Linked DNA regions of Homo sapiens: region 1 is linked to region 2. The links are contacts of gene promoters, found by promoter capture Hi-C in blood cells and fetal thymus (Javierre and others, 2016). All regions are on one chromosome and are shown on one strand. Each heading gives the region's core, a stretch centred on a gene start or on the middle of the fragment in contact. The rest is flanking DNA. Distances are from core to core; before and after follow the strand shown.

Region 1 (2,713 bases), core at 37-2,536, 540 kb before region 2:
TGGAGATGGAGACGAGTTCTGTGAAAACCAAGCTTTGTGATTTCTGTGGGAACAGGTGGCCGTCCTCAACACTTGGGCTTAAGTTTGTCAAACAACTCCGTAAACCACTGAAGCTGGCTTTTGAGGAAAACCACTTTTTACTCTTCCCCTCACCACCAACAGAAAAGATTTAGAATTCAGAAATGAACGAGAAGAGAGTGAGAGGCTTTCTGTGATGACATTTCTCCAATATGAATTTAAAGGGAATTTCTTTCCCTTTAAAACCATGAAGAAATTTATGCTTCTGCCTGAAATATCTTTTAAACCATCAGTGGTCTTCTTGAAAACAGCTTTACTCCGGTTCTCTGAGGAGTTGTGTGTGAGGGCAAAAGCTGGTTATTTTGATAACCCCTGAAAGACCAGGGGCCCACTATTCTAGTGTTAGCAGTGGCCCTGTCTGACCTGGGGTGCAAACAAGCTTCTCTCCCAACAGGAACTCTTTCTCTTATTGTGTGGTAAATTCATTAGTGGGAAGGCAGGGTTGAAATGGCCCCAAGGTCCCAGATGTAAAATCTCCTTCCTCTATATAGTATGTAAAAGCCCAAAGTCTTCCCAGGAAGTGTTACAAATGAGAGCGTAGTGCACACCAAAAGGAAACCCTGCCCCACAGAATGGGCTCCTGCAAAACCATCTGCTACCCTCAGAGCCACTTGGTGATTCCTGGGGCTGGCTGCTGTGACTCTCCACTAAGCACCCAGGTGGCCCCTTGGGCCAAATATGAAAAGCCTCACATTGCACATGGAGCCCTTGGGTACTCACTGCAGACTGGCTTGCTCTACAAAGGGGTAAAAGTGGCCTCTGGCAGAGCCTGGGTTTCTCATCTTTCAGCAACCCCTTCTAGAAGGGAACTATGGAGTCCCAAGTTCCAGTTTGGAAAATATCAGGGACATTTTCTGATTGGTCCGCTTGGCCCACTTGGTTCCCCTGTCCATCCCTGGACCAGTCAACTGTGATGAGGAGTGTGTGCTTAGGAAAGTGTGTCAGTTGGAAAAATCAAATCCAGGTGGAAACATGGGGTCGCAGCAGAAGGAGGGCCAGTTCTAGAAAGGAAAGAGGTACCTGGTGGATGGTATCATAGCTGTCCTTCACAGTACATGCAGGTAACTTTTGCATGACCCCATGCCCTCTTTTATGGCAGGCAGGCATTTCCTGGGATACAGGCAAGATGCTCACAAGAGCCTCTTCGTAATGTCTAGAAACTGGGTGACACCCACAAGTGATCGCTCTGTCTGCTGAAGTGGTTCCACAAGTGATGTTGGCTATATAGCATTATTGAAAAGAATGTTCTACTATGTCCTTAAAGCATTTCTATTTCCACAACTAAGTAGAATCAGGGGTGACCCCACTGATGCTCACCCTGATTTGGCTCTCAAACTTACCCAAATATTATAAGGCAAATAAATATAACTTCCAGGGACATGCCAATTAAATTGGTCCAGGAACTCCTCACTAATGACTAGCCCATCAGGTCATCTCAGATCAGCCTCTTTCTCTTGTGTTTGAACACTGTAGTCTCTGATATATAGAAAAGCCCCCTGCAACTGGATCAACCAATAACCCACAGATTTCTTCTAGTCATTTCTTCATGAATTTATTGGGACCTGCTGGAGAATTAAGGAGATCAGACAGGCCAAACATCCCTAGATCTGATATTTGAAACTCATAGTAAAATAGCTCAATTCCTAATCTACTTCCTGGCCTCATTAGAATTCAATTAGTAGAAGGACATTCCTTCCTAGAGGCTCGTTGGCAGATTTGTGTGTGAACAGTTAACCCGGTGTTAGCAAAAGCAGTTACTTGTATCCAAACAGCTCTCTCCAGCTGCAAAGCTGAACCCCAAGGCTGTTTAGACAGGACTGTGCTTATCCTCCCACCAGGATGCAAATATTTTAAGTGGACAGAGTGAGATAAAATGCAGCCAATGCTGCCCCTGACACTGACCGCATACTGTGCCTGCTGGATTTTTGGACTTGAAGGTCAGGGGAGGAAGGTGAAGGAAGGGACGCTGGAGACAAGGAAGCAAAGAAAATCTTCCATGACTTTGTTGAAAATTATTTTCCAAATAAACAAGCTTGGGCTTTAAAATGTATGAACACAAATTCTACCAAAGTATGTGGAAATACCCATATATTTCTTGAACAGGAAGAACTGCTCATCAGACCATAAAAAGCAGGAGATCTGAGGGTAGGACAACCTTGAGTTTTTTTGTTTTTTGTTTTTTGTTTTTGCATTTTTTTTGTCTGCAGTATTTTCTGCAATGTTCTTCAGATGCCTGAATGTAGACTCAGGGAGATTTATTTTTCTTCTGACAGGGTATGTTATAGTTGTCACTCAGCCTTGAAATAGTCTTTCCCTCCAGTGGACCATCAGGCCAGTAATATATTTGCGTAGCTCTTCCCAACTGTCACTCCTCTGCCAGCCTTCATGCGTCAGCATTGCACAGTATGCCTAGCCAGCCAATGGCAGGCTTTGAAGCTGCTGCCTTTAAGGAACTTGTTTTCAAAATATTCGCAGTCACCCAGCAACAGGAAAAGGCATTTCATTGGCTCTCTCACTGTCAGCTGGAAAGGAGGATGATCCAGATGGGCCTCAGCTGTGAAGATCAAGATTAGACATGGGGGGCGGGGCAGATATTTGGACACAGAAGCCTCTCAGTGGCAAATGTGGTATTTTA
Region 2 (2,759 bases), core at 111-2,610:
CAAGACTTTTTAACACATTGCATGAACTGTCATTTAATGCATGCATTAAGGTTTCCTTCACCCGAAGTTCTTAAATAAGGGGCTCACATTTACATTCTAATGTCTTCCTGTGTCTCCTAGAGGTAGAGATGTTAAACCGTTTAATGTGAAGAGATTGTCACATGCTAGAAAAAAACGTTAATAGCCTAAAGCATTAATTCATGTAATCTCATCTTTTCAAGTCTTGGATAAATGTATTCGATTGACAATAACGAAATCGACAAAAATATTTAGGATCCACATTAAATGTACTGCAAAAACGTGAAAATTTCAACTCTGGTTGCAGTCCTCTAAATAAAATTCCAGGAAACTACAACCAGAGCCGACTCAAAGAATGGGAAAACATGAAGATAAAAAACATTTCTAAATTCTTCCTTAACATACTATACTCAAATTCTTCTCCACCCACCCTCCTCAGCGGCCGGAGCCGGGAAGGAGCTGGCTGGGTTGTTTTTCACATCTACACTCAAATTCTCAAAAATTAAGTCCTTCGCCCACATGGCGGTTTAAGAAGTGTAATGTAAGTACTTTAGCAAAAATATATCAGGAAGTATTTTAAAGCAGCAAAGTTTTTAACAATCTCGTATTTCCAACAGGATGCTGCGAAAAAAAGAAAAGGCCAATTATCGACTTCTCGCGGAGAGGACCCGTAAAAGGCCTAGAAAAGCGTCGGCAGAACTTCAGCGAAAGCACTACCTCCCCATGCTTCGAGGCCATTTGCGGCTTTTTCTGCCGGGCCGCCTCCGCCCTCTTCCCTCCAATCCCAGGCTCGCTTTCCCGGCGGCAGAGCGAGGCGGCGGCCATTGCGGGCCAATGCGCCATTTCGTAACGCGGCGGCGGATCAATGTCAATGTGGCCGCCGCCCGCTTGCTCGCTCGCCCGGATGTGCCTGCTCGTCCCCTCCCCTCCCCCACCACCTCCTCCCAACCGCTCCCGCCGGGGCCCGCCATGCCGCCCTCGGCCTCGCTTCGGAGGCCGCGCAGCCGGCAGGCCGGCTTCCCTCCCGAGGCCTCCCCGACCAAGCCGCGCCTCCAAGGGGCCGCCTGTGCAGCCGAAGGTGAAGGCGAGGCGGGCGAGGGGCCCCAAGGAGGTCTCCAACTCTCGCTCCCCTCCCCCTCCCACAGCCTGTCTCAACGCAAGAGCGCGGGACGGCCGACCCGGTCCACCCGGCCTCCCCGCTCCCACCGAACCAGGCCCCCAACGCCGGCCATTCCCCACCAACCCCCCGCTCTCCCCCTAATACCTCCTCCCCCCGGCGGCGACGGCGACGGCCGGAGTCGGGCTGGGGGCGACCGGGCGGCGGTTTTACCTCCATTTTGAGACCGGACTCGCCTCTTCCAACTCGAGTTCAATATGGGACCGAGAGGAAGAGGCGGGGCCAGTCGTCACGTGACGCGTTTTCCGCGCGCCGCCAGTCTGTTGGGGGAGGAGCGAATTGGGAAGGGGGCGGAGCCAAGCGGGCGCGAAGAGGGACTGGACCAGCGGGTTGGCGGGCGGAGGGCGGAGGCGCGGCGTGCCGCGGGAGCGCGCGCGCCTCGCCAGCTTTCAGGGGAAGAGGGCCTTTGCCGCCGTTCGCGTCAGGGCGAGTTCCGGGACGTCAGTGCGGTCTCCGCCAATGGTGAGCGTCCACGTAGAGGGAACGCCTTGTGATCGCGCGTCACCAGAGAGAAAGGCCTTTCCCTTTCTTCTCGCGCTTGTCCCTCATTCCCCACGCAGGCCTCTAGTTCTCCATTTCAGAATTCATTCTATTCCTGTGCCCGAAATAAAACCCACGTTTTTCTTGCTTGTAATTTAAAGGTTGCAAGAAAAACTCCTCGGCCCCTCGGACCATCTTTCCTGTTTCCAAATGCCGGGGACCAGTGTCTGTGACTGCGCCGCCTGCCTGAGGGCATGTACTGAAAAGCCCTGCGACTCCAACATGTGGGACTCACAAGCACCTTGGACAGGCCTCAAAACGCGGCTGACATACAGAATTTTTACCATTAACGACCTGAGGCAGGACTGGTGGAGGTCAGTTCATTAGTTACTGATCTCAAGAAACAAGTCAGGACTATTTTCTAATGTGCTTCTTTCAAGTTAGTGTGGAAAGAGCTGATGCATCTGTTGTAGCTGACGGAATTTAAGGAACTGAATAATTGACAAGATTTCCAGAAAAGCAGGGTCGCCAGATAATGCTACCTGTTTGCGAATGATTGTTACCGTAATGCTCTAGAGAGCTAATCCTTTCTCGGCCTAGTCAGATGATTTTAAATCATTTGATTTTACAGAGCTTTAGTTTCAGTTTTTTAAATGAAAATGGGGATGGGATTAGGTCATCTTCTAACACCCACGACAGCCATAAATTGATAATCTATGGATCCATATTTAAAGTTACTGATAAAAATAACCACAATTGACCAGCCTCCCTTCCCTGTTAGGAAATGCTTTATATTTTAATTTAGCAACCCATGTGACCAACCCTTTTAGAATTGAACTGGCTCTCCCTAGGAAAGGTTAGAAATCTAATCAGTTATAGTAAGTTTCTGTTAACAAATGGGGAGTGGTCGACTTGGAGTTTGGAAAAGGGGAGCGTAAAGTCTAAAAGTTTGTTAATTTATCTAGCCGTTGCTCCAGGAGGACCTGTGTTATAGTTTGGAAACATTTACAAAGGGTATTTTTGTGGGGCAGAAAACAGTTAGCAGTCCTTAATGTAATTTGGTTGAAATAACCGTTCAAACCAG

What was found. Contacts are between HindIII fragments. The CHiCAGO score rates a contact against its expected background, and 5 or more counts as called.
Region 1: a fragment that was not itself captured here is called in contact with the fragment with the promoter of HNRNPA3 in region 2 in 1 of 17 cell types (megakaryocytes); the score reaches 6.0 in megakaryocytes.

Annotation. Positions count from the first base shown.
Region 1 is chr2:177,753,904-177,756,616 of GRCh38, reverse strand. The region is part of intron 10 of PDE11A (phosphodiesterase 11A); the gene reads left to right. Among named protein-coding and RNA genes, the nearest start is that of PDE11A-AS1, 82 kb to the right of the region's middle. The HindIII fragment of the contact is 1,653 bases long and covers 460-2,112 here.
Region 2 is chr2:177,211,395-177,214,153 of GRCh38, reverse strand. HNRNPA3 (heterogeneous nuclear ribonucleoprotein A3) reads right to left here and starts at 1,360. Exons shown (of 11, transcript NM_194247.4): 1 at 1,283-1,360. The coding sequence starts at 1,354. MIR4444-1 (microRNA 4444-1) reads right to left here and starts at 1,428; the gene lies at 1,355-1,428. LOC105373759 (a long non-coding RNA gene) reads left to right here and starts at 1,743. Exons shown (of 1, transcript NR_157853.1): 1 at 1,743-2,759. RefSeq lists an enhancer at 722-1,393 and a silencer at 933-1,722. The HindIII fragment of the contact is 9,993 bases long and covers 1-2,759 here.